2 separate regions of the Homo sapiens genome follow, and region 1 is linked to region 2. The links are contacts of gene promoters, found by promoter capture Hi-C in human tissues and cell types (Jung and others, 2019). All regions are on one chromosome and are shown on one strand. Each heading gives the region's core, a stretch centred on a gene start or on the middle of the fragment in contact. The rest is flanking DNA. Distances are from core to core; before and after follow the strand shown. Region 1 has its middle 130 kb from the start of MVB12B. Region 2 holds the start of MVB12B (multivesicular body subunit 12B).

Evidence for each region. The method cuts DNA at HindIII sites, captures the fragments that hold promoters and counts their contacts. A contact is called where the count stands out against the background at its distance.
Region 1: a fragment that was not itself captured here is called in contact with the fragment with the promoter of MVB12B in region 2 in 3 of the 25 tissues and cell types used here (IMR-90 fibroblasts, hippocampus and mesendoderm cells).

What each region holds. Positions count from the first base shown.
Region 1 is chr9:126,196,845-126,202,284 of GRCh38, forward strand. No RefSeq gene overlaps it. Among named protein-coding and RNA genes, the nearest start is that of MVB12B, 130 kb to the right of the region's middle. The HindIII fragment of the contact is 6,735 bases long and covers 293-5,440 here.
Region 2 is chr9:126,323,271-126,328,703 of GRCh38, forward strand. It overlaps MVB12B (multivesicular body subunit 12B), which reads left to right and starts at 3,559. Exons shown (of 10, transcript NM_033446.3): 1 at 3,559-3,740. The coding sequence starts at 3,660. RefSeq lists a silencer at 3,544-3,683 and an enhancer at 4,125-4,776. The HindIII fragment of the contact is 8,205 bases long and covers 1-5,433 here.

The sequences.
Region 1 (5,440 bases), core at 2,410-4,909, 130 kb before region 2:
TACATAAAAATATATAGTGTTGTTTTACCTGTTTTAAAATTTTACATAAATGGTATCTTGCTAAAGATATCGTCCTATAATATAATGTCCTATTTGATGGGCTTCTATTGTTTCTCCCTTTTTTCTGCAATTACAGCAATGTTCCAATAAACACCTTTGGCCCAGCACGGTGGCTCACACCTGTAATCCCAGCACTTTTGGGAGACCAATGCAGGAGGATCTCTTGAGCCCAGGAGTTCGAGACCAGCCTAGGCAACATAGGGAAACCCCATCTCTACAAATACTCAGGGGGCTAAAGTGGGAAGAGCCTGGGAGGTCAAGGCTGCAGTGAGCCGAGATCACTGTGCTATACTCCTGCCTGGGCAACAGAGCAAGACTCTGTCCCAAAACAAACAAACAAACAAAAAACACCACACACACACACAAAACCAAAACCAAAACAAAACAAAAAGCCACCCTTTTACATGTTCCTTTAGAAATCGTATCTGAATTTCTTTGGGCAGTGACTTTCAAAAATTTTAAAACTTCAACTAATAATCACAAGTTATTTTATAACACAATGCAAGGCACATATGTGTATTATTAAAGCAAAAGTTTTATAAAATAATGTTTATCCTTATAAGTGATGCAATCTGATAATTTCCATTCTGTTCTATTTATTTTAATACTGGTTTCTACTCTCCAAATCGAGTTCATGACTTTTTAACGGATCATGACACCAGTTTGCCAAACAATACTCTAAGGCACATGCCTCAAAGTAGAACTGCTTAGTTGGATGTGAGCATCTTCAGGTTTATTAGCTATTCTAGTTGCTCTCCAAGGTGATTATAACTATTTTATTCTTACCAGCCGTGTACAAGAGTTTCCATTTCTCAACACTCCCATCTATGCTTGGTACTGTTAGATTTCTCAATTTTGTCAATCTGATGGATATTTGAAATGGTTTCTCGTTGTTTTAATTTGTATTTTCTAGTACTAATGACATTAAACATCTTTCCACAAGTTCATTTGCCACTTGGGTTTCCTCATCTCTGAATAATTTGTTATTCATATACTTTGTCCATTTTTTATTAGGTGAATTGCCTTTTCTTCTTACTTTGTAGGATATTCTAAATCTAATTTATTGCTATATACTGAGACAAATATCTTCTCTGAATATGTGTGCCAGATATTTTTACTCTCTAGATAAACAGAAGGTCTCAAGCTTAATATAATTAAGATTATCAATTGTTTCACTTATACTTTGTGCTTTTTGGTCTTATTTAGGAAGATTTTCCTACTCTGTGTTTGTCAAGTAACTTGCCTAAATTTTTTTCCAACTGTTTTAATGTTTTGCTTTTCACATTTATATCTTTAATTCATCCATAAACAGCATATTATAATTGTTTATGGTATAAGATAAGGATATATATTTTTCATGTGGATAACCAGTTGTTCTAATCCATTCTTTCCTTGATGGTTTGCAATCCTGACTCTGTAATATACCATACTTTTTTAAATGCAGGAGATTGATTTCTGGGGTCTTCATTTTATATCATTTGTCTATTTTGTAGCTTATGCTACATTGCCTTATTAACTTTTACTTTTATACTCTTAATGGTTGGTTCAATCTTTCTTTAGGGGGTAGGTTTTTATAACTTTAAAATTTTTTTTCATTATTATTAGTCCATTTAGTTTTTTTTTAAACTTAAACGTTGAGTCAATTTGGTAATTTATATTGTCCCAGAGAAGTATCTTTTATTGAAATTTTAACATATAAGTACAGAGATTCCCATAACAATCCCTTATAATGTAATTTTTTAAAATCACTTCTTTAGCTATTGTTTTATCTAATTTCTCAATTGTATCTTGATATATTAATATTCTGTCTGATATTTTTTGATTTGTCAGAGGTTTGCCTGTTTTTGTTTTTACAAAGAGCTTTCTGTTGTGACATAGCTGGATTTTTGGTTTCTCTAGAGGACTCAGTTAACCTTTAGTTTTACTAACTGTGTTCAGAGAAAGAGACTTAGAAATTTTAGCTTTTTAAATGTGTGGGCTGCTGATAAGATTTGGCTCTGTGTCCCCACCCAAATCTCATCTTGAATTGTAATCCCCCCATGTCTAGGGAGGGACCTGGTGGGAGGTGATTGGATCATGAAGGCGGTTTCTCCCATGCTGTTCTCATGACAGTGAGTGAGTTTTCCTGAGAGCTGATGGTTTTAAGTGTGGCACTTCCTCATTCGTTCACACTCTCTCCTGCCGCCTTGTGAAGAAGGTACTTGCTTCTCCTTTGCCTTCTGCCATGTTTGTAAGTTTCCTGAGGCTTCCTAGCCATGTGGAACTGTGAGCCAATTAGACGTTTTTTCTTCATAAATTACCAGTCTCAGGTAGTGTCTTTACAGCAGTGTGAGAATGGACTAATACAGCTGCTATATAAACAATTTTTATAAATTTTCTAAGAATATTTAAAATACAGGTTTTTTATTATTAAGGTACAAATTAAGTGTTTCTGTTAATTTGGTCATATTTTTTAAATGACTAAAGATTAATTCTACATTTTACGGGTTGTCTACTTGGTATATGGAGGAATCAAATAGTGCTCCTAAAAGTCTCCCCCAGCAATTATTTCTGTTCATTCCTTATGTTCCCAATTTTGCTTTATATAGAGATATATGGTATTAGTAATTGCATAAAAGTTAATATCTGTTTGTATTCATTATGGATGATCACTTTGATCAATATAAGATGAAGTAATATTACTACTTTTGCTTTCGTTTCCCTTGCATTTGCTTGAAAAATTTTGCTCATCATTTTTTTATCTGTTATGTTTTTCTTGGTGTTTTCTTCTAAGTAGCAAATGATAGATTTTTTTCAATTTGAAGATTAAAATGTTAAGAGAGATCAAATCTTCCTAAATTAATATATACATTTAGTAAGATCACAATAAATAGGCCAACAGAATTTTTTAAATAGACAAGCCAATTATAAAGCTTATCTGGAAAACCAAATATACACAAGAATAGCCAGCAACATTCTGGAAAAAAAAAGAGCAATGAGGAAGAAATAGCTCTACCATATATTATGACAAATCACTGAAGTTCAGTAATTAAAATGTTGTGATTGTGATATAAGAGTAGAAAGACTGGCCAGTTGATCAAATGGAGCACAGAAATGTATCCAGTAAGAAATGAGAATGTAATGTATGATAAAGGTAGTATTTCTTTCTCTTTTTTTCTTTTTTTCCTTTCAATTTTATTTTAAGTTCTAGGTACATGTCCAGGATGTGCAGCTTTGTTATATGGGTAAATGTGTGCATGGTGGTTTGCTGCACAAATCAACTCATCACCCTGCATCCATTAACTAGCCTTCCTGATGCTCTCCCCGTGCCACACACACCTCCAACAGGCCCCAGTGTGTGATGTTCTTCACCATGTGTCCATGTGTTCTCATTATTCAGCTCCCACTTATAAGTGAGAACATTCAGTGTTTGGTTTTCTCTTCCTGCATTAGTTTGCTGAGGATAATGGCTTCCAGCTCCAGCTATGTCCCTGCAAATGACATGATCTCATTCCTTTTTAAGGCTTTTTAATGGAATACCATAGTATTCCAGGGTGTATATGTACCACATTCTCTTTATCCAGTCTAACATTGATGGGTATTTGGGTTGATTCCACATCTTTGCTATTGTGAATAGTGCTGCAATGAACATATGTGTGCATGTATCTTTATAATAGAATGATTTATATTCCTTTGGGTATATATCCAGTAATGGGATTGCTGAGTCAAATGGTATTTATACTTCTAGATCTTTGAGGAATAACTACGCTGTTTTTCACAATGTTTGAACTAATTTACACTCCCACCAGTAGTGTAAGAGCATTCCTTTTTCTCCACAACCTCGCCAGCATCTGTTGTTTCTTGACTTTTTAATAATCACCATTCTGACTGGTATGAGATGGTATCTCATGGTGGTTTTGATTTGCATTTCTATAATGATCAGTAATACTGAGCGTTTTTTCATGTTTGTTGGCTACATGAATGTCTTCTTTTGAGAAGTGTCTGTTCATGTCCTTTACCCACTTCTTAATGGGGTTGTTTGTTTTTTTCTTGTAGTATTTCTTATCAAAGGGAAAACATGGAGTATTTAATAAATGGTATTGGCATAACAGGAAACCATCTGGAAAAAAAGCCATCAGATCCCTACCTCACGCCTTACATCAAAGCCATTCCACACAGCTGAAACATTTAAATATAAAGTTTAAAAACATAAAAAGTACTATAACAATAGAGATTTAAAAATAACAATCTTGTCATAAGAGAGGGCTTTTGAAATAAGACACAAGACCCAGAAGCCATAAAAGAGATGAATTCAAATGAGAAAAAAAGTTTAATGTGCAAGAATAAAATAGAGTGACAAGACAAATAACACACTAGGGAAGGTGTTTGCAACAAACAGATTGATAAATGACTGATTTCTTTAATACAAAGAATGCCTACAATAGGTTTAAAAATAAATAAAAAACAATGACCCACTAGAAGAGCTAAGGGCTTGAAGAGACAGCTTTCTAAGAACACAAACTCAAATGGCTCTTAAGCAAATGAAAAGATGCTCAGCCTAGCTCAAAATAGCAGAAATGAAAACCTATGGCAAAATACCCCTTCTCATTGATTATTCCATCAAACATCAAAACCTTGTTAACACACAGTGTTGACACAGGTGTGAAAAATATATCAATGCATAAAACATTTGTTGGAGAAAATTGGGCAAAATCTTTCAACATTAAAAGTGCACAAGCCCTTTGATCTAGCAATTTCACTGTTAGGGATTTATTCTACAGACATATTAGCCAAATCTCATCTGAATTTTACCCAACAGTGGTGGATTGAGCACTTGCCATGTGCCAGGCATGGTAGCAGACAAGAAGGATACCCAGAGAAATGAAGCAAAGTTACTGTACAATCTTACAATGTGAGCTGCAATGGAATTTAGAGATTTCATTCCAGAGATGAAAACAGTGAGGTTCAGAGAGGGGAGTGTCTTTTCCAAGAAGTGACTGAGCAGGAACTGGAACTAAGGCCAAACATTTCCACACGAGTTGCCCTCAACCCTGAGAAAATAGAAAATATTCCCTGAAAGATCTGGGGACGCAGTCTAAAGTGGCTTATTACAAGCAAAGAAATATTTATTATTTGTTTCTAAAAGGTCATGCAAATTTTGCATTTTATTTCATCTATCTCTTTATTTAAATACACACATATAAATTGTTTAATATGAAGTAATGTTTTAAAAATTATTTTATTACTTACCAATTAATGGTAAATACTACAACACTTTCCATCCCCCCCCCCCCCATCTTTAGGTACAGTAGCTATATGAGGAAAAAGCTCCTCCTTCTTCTCAAACCCCAAAATATCCCCAAAGGGAGAAACATCCAGCTAAGCCAAGCTGCTTCTTGAA
Region 2 (5,433 bases), core at 2,309-4,808:
GTTTTACATTATATTGTAATATTTGTTAGAGCAATATTTTCTCATTATTCTTCCATTTCAAAAATTTCATGGGTATTTCCTCATACTTATTTATCAAGATAAGTTTCTTGTTAGTTTTTTTTTGTTGTTGTTTGTTTGTTTGTTTCTGAGATAAGATCTTGCTCTGTTGCCTAGGCTGGAGTGCAGTGGCGTGATTATAGCCTACTGTAGCCTCAAATTCCTGGGTTCCAGCAATCCTCCCACCACAGCCTCCCAAGTAGCTGGGACCACAGGCACACACCACCATACCTGGCTCATTTAAAAAATCTTTTTAGAGACAGGGTCTCACTATGTTGCCCAGTCTAGTCGCAAACTCCTGGCCCCAAACAATCCTCCCACCTTGGCCTCCCAAAGTACTGGGATTACCAGCATGAGCCAACACACTCACGCCAATCAAGGTAAATTTTAAAATAATTTCATCATGTTCCATCTCACCTCACCCCTCAGATCATAGTGGTTTCTTGATCTGAATTTTACTAAATTTATAAAGTGAGTTGGGGAGACACAGCATCTTTGCACTGTTGAGACTTCCTGCCCAGGGATTTGTTATATTTTTCCGACTATTAAGATCTTCTTTTATGTCCCTCAGTCAGGTTTGTAGTTTTCTTTCCATGGACCTTCACATTTCTTGTTAAGCTTATGCCTAGTATATGCCTTATAGTATTCATTGCTAATGTGAATATGCTTTTTTTCCATCATACTTCCTAAATGGAAATAACTGGTATTTAGTGTTGTATTTGGAGGTCTCTGTAAGTAATACCTCCCTCCCTATTCTAAGTTTGGAACAAACTGGGGCATAGACACAGGAAAGAGACATAAGACAAAAATACTACCTTAATTTTTAATGAAGCTGACTGGAAAAAGTAGCTTTTGCTCTGTAGCTAAGTGGGCTTGCTATATTTCTCCCTGAATTGAGTAGATTTATTTGTGTAGTGGCGGGTGGTGCAGGAGAATAGTATCACTCTGTCCCTGAAACAGGTTCACTTAACCCACAGTGAGAGCGCATGGAAATATTTGCTCTCTGCAGTCAGCCAAATCCAAAAAGAGAACTCAGAAGCATCTATTCTTGTCCACTTTTTCCAAACTCACTCATCTTCCCTTAGAGTGGAGAGAGGCCAGAAGTCTTATTCTAATGGAAGTCCCTCTATATGGAAAAGAAGGCTTCTCCCTTCAATACCATAAGACAGGGTAAGGAAGAAAAAAAAGAATAATAATAATAATAATAATAATAATAATAAGAAGAAGAAGAAGAAGAAGAAGAAGGAAGGAGAAGGCTTCTCCCTTAACATTTAGGAAAACCATTGATTTTGGTGTTTATCTTATAACTGACCACCTTACCAAAGTCTCTATGATTTTTAGTTGATTTTTTTTATTTTTACTTTTTGGGAAACACTTAAATCATAAGCAAATAATGACAATTTTATCTCTTCCCTTCTAATATTTATATTTCTTATTTATTTTTCTTATCTTATTGCATTGGCTTTATTCTATAGCCATTATAGCAGGCATCCTTTTGACTGACTTACATGAGAATACCTTTAGTGTTTCACCATTAAATATGTTTGTTGATGGCTTCTGATAAACTTTGTCATGTTAAAAGTTTAAACTTTCTTCCTATAATAGTTTACTAAGAGTTTTTAGAAATTTATGGGTCATTAGTTTTGAAGTTTATAAAATACTTTTAAAGCATCTATCCCATTGATAATATCCTGTAATTTGTTTTCCTTTAACAATGCAATGCATTTACAAATTCCCTAATGTTGGATTTTTCTTGCGCCTCTGGAATAAATCTTGCTTGATCATGGTGGGTTTTCAGTTGCTTTAATAGTAAACTGGATTCAAATGGCTAAAATTGTATTTAATAGTTTTACGACTATTATATACTTAAATATATAGTGCAGATTCACATATTGAGGATTTATCAGTGAGCTTTAGAAGGTGGTCCTGGCTCAGATGAGTTTGGGAAATGCCAGGTTAAACAAACCAAACAGGTTTCTTTACTCCTGGACTTCACAGAGGCCTTCCTTAATATACGAATACTTATCGTGATTCTCCAAAAGGTACACTATAAACGGCATGCAGCACTTTCTCAAGTTGCCCACAGAAGCCCATTTTCAAAAAATAAATATTAAATTCTCTGGGGACTCGTGTTCTAGGTTAGTCATCTGCAGTTCTTTTTGGTATTGTCTGTTGGATTTTGGTATCAGGGTTATGCTAAACTTGGGAAATGAAATAAAAATTTTTGTTTCTTTTGTTTATTTTTTCCTGTGTAACAGTTTAAGTAACATAGGGATGATCTGTGCCCTGATGGGAGGATAAGGCTTGCTGTAAAGCCATCTGAACCCATGGCATTTCTGAGTAGTGAAGACACTGGGAATGCACACGTGCATGGCTTCCCTACAGGATGTTTCCCCCGACAGCCCATTCTGCTTGGCACCCTTCTCTTTAGGATCAAACAGCTATTATGGAAAAGCCTAGAATGTGTGAAAATGAGACTCAATGCATTAGCAAATCAATGCTGATCACTCCTGCATGGTCCTCAAGTCCTAACGAATGCTCCAGCCTCCTGGCAGGAAACCTTTCAAATCTTGCACACGCTGGCCTCTGCCTGGGGTGCCTGGCTGGGCGGTGTGGGGGGCATGGTTGGTTAAGGCGCAGAGTCCGCCTTTCCTACCAGCCACTCTAGCTGAGGGTCAAGCTCTGGACCCTCCCCCAACCATCCAGCTCCATTTTATCCTTGGCTTATGCCTTCCCCAAGTACTGCAGGGTAGGACTCCTGCTAAAAACTTCTTCTAGATGCTTGCCTGAGGCTGGCCCCATAAACCTGATTCTAGGCTTCTGGGGATAAATCATCTAACTAATATAAGAGAATTGCTAGGCAATTGGGGTTAGTTTGAGACGACTGGCTGAGCTCACCTTAGGTGAGCTGGGGGGTGGGGGAAGATGAGCTGAAGGATTCTAGGGTTCAGTGAAGCCTAGAATGGCTGGGTGGGCGGAGAGTCCTTAGAAGGGTCCAACTTCTAGCCTGAGGGCCTGGGGGCTTCCAGGGATCTGCAGCCGAGCGGAAGACCGGTCTTGCGTACAGCGAGGCCTACGAGAGCTAAGTGGGCTGAGGGTCCCTGGAAAAGACCAGCCTGGGGGCGGGGACCATCGATGCCCCAGGCTCTAGAGGCCGTGGGCTCCCGGGGGCCTGAGGCTGGACTGGGGTCGCCGGCGGGCTCGGGGAGGCCCGGGTGGGCGCACCGGGGCCCTGCCTGCGGCTGACGGGCTGGGTCGAGGGGGAGGCTGGGGAGGCGGGGTGCCGGCCGGGGCGGCGGCGCGGGCTCGGGACGCCAGGGCTCCCTCTCCCTCCTCCCGCCCGAGCCAGCCTCGGGCGCCGGGCGCCTCCCCCGATCCTGAACCAGCGCCAGCGCCGGGAGGCCCGGAGCCCGGCCCGCCGCCGCGGCCCGCGGAGGGAGCCGCCGCCGCCACTGCCGTTGTCGCCGCCGCCGCCAGGCCGCGCCCCGCCCCTCCGCCGCCGCCGCCGCCGCCGCCGCTCTCGGTGAGGCTCGCGCTCGAGCTGCGGCGCCGGCTCCTGCCGCCTGGGCCCCGGGCCCGGCCCCTCCCGCGCCGCCCGGGCGATGAGAAGCTGCTTCTGCGTGAGACGGAGCCGGGACCCGCCGCCGCCGCAGCCACCGCCGCCGCCGCCCCAGCGGGGAACAGTTAAGTGAGGCCCGGGCGCCGCGGAGGCTCGGCGGAGCCGGCCCTGCAGCCGGGAGGGCGGGCGGGCGGGCGCGGGCCCCCGGCCGAGGGGCGGGCGGACGGGAGGAGCCGGGCCGCGCCGAGGCCTGCGGGCTCCGTGCCCGGCCCGCGGCGGGGACAGGCCCGGGCGGCCTTTGCAGAGCCCCGAGCGCGCCGCGGCTGCCGGTGCCCGGGCTCGGCCTGGCGGCGAGAGGCGGGAGAAGCTGGGGGACCCGAGTGCCAGCAGCGCCCCCAAGGCCCGGGCAGGTGAGGGGCGCCGAGAGCCACCTCTGCCCGCGTGAGAGGGAGGCGGCCCACCTGGGCACAGACTGGGAACAGTCAATCGTTTGACCGGCCTGGCCTGGGGTCCTGCTCTCTCTGGTCACGTGGGTGCAGACCAACGTGCACCTGCCCCAGGAGCATCACTGCCTCTGTGACCTGGGCACAGCAGAGAGGACACCTAAACCCTCAGGCACCTGTCTGGAAGGTGACATGCCCAGCCTGGGTACCCGAGACCCAGAGCACCCATCCAGGAACATGGTGGGCACGTCGAGCACCCTACAGTGACTCCAACACCAGCGAGACGGGAGGAGCAGGGGCTGGGACAAGAGCTGAGGCATGGCACCAGGGGACATCACATCCTCAGAGGCAGGCACCAGGGAACGGGGTAGACCCAAGAGCATCTTTTGTCCTCTTTGTTACCAACACACAACTGTTCTAAATCAGCAGCCCTTCTCACCATGAAAGATGAGACTCTTCTGTTCCCTGCCCCTCAACACCTCTTGCACAAGGCACTGAGGAAGACCACAGGAGGGCAAAAGGCAAATGGTGGTTGCCCCTTCCCTGCTTCCTGCCCCCACCCAAGAACCAGAGCCCACTCCGATTGCTGCCACAAAAGCAGACAGCAGACCAGCTCCTCTTAGGGGCCTTTGTCTCTCGTGGTTCCTTCTCAGTATAATCTCATTGTACATTTCTCGACAGCTGGCTGGATCTCATCTCGTTTTAACAGGGCTGGGAAATCTTATCAGCGGCACCAGGAAAGCTTAGAGAGTTAAAAAATAAGCTCTGTGAAGCCTTGACTAACTGAAAAACTCAATGTGCTAGGATGTTTAGTTACAGTAGATGGTGACACCTTTCTTGCTTGTTAGAAATCATGTGGGGTCCTTGGAGATACTGTACCATGCTCAGAATCTTTAAATAGGGCCTCAGAGAGATGAGGCTTCTGCTTGGGACCCGGGCTCCAAGCCCCATGGGAAGCAGTTGACGTGGCGATTACTGGTTCATTTAAACCTAAACTTACCTTCTGTAATCCATATTTTTCATTCCTTCCTTCTAGGCTTTAGGTCACACTCCTAATTTAGGTTCAAGGCATTTTTCTTGCCCTGTCTCCATCCTGCTAGGGACCTTTTACCACTTCCAACTGGAATGTTGTGCCATGGTTATGTGCAGGGAGTTTAGAATTAGCCCTCAGCTTAAGTCTTGGCTTTCCTACTTACTTTGTGCCCTTGGACAAATTATTGAACTTTTCTGAGTTTCAGTTTCCTCATCTGTAGAGTGAAACTAATGATAGTATTCATCTCATGGGATTATGGCGTGATGTAAATGAAATTTTGCAAGAAAAGTCTAGCTCAGTGCCTGCTACATGGCAAGAAGTCAGTAAACGGTAGGGGTCAT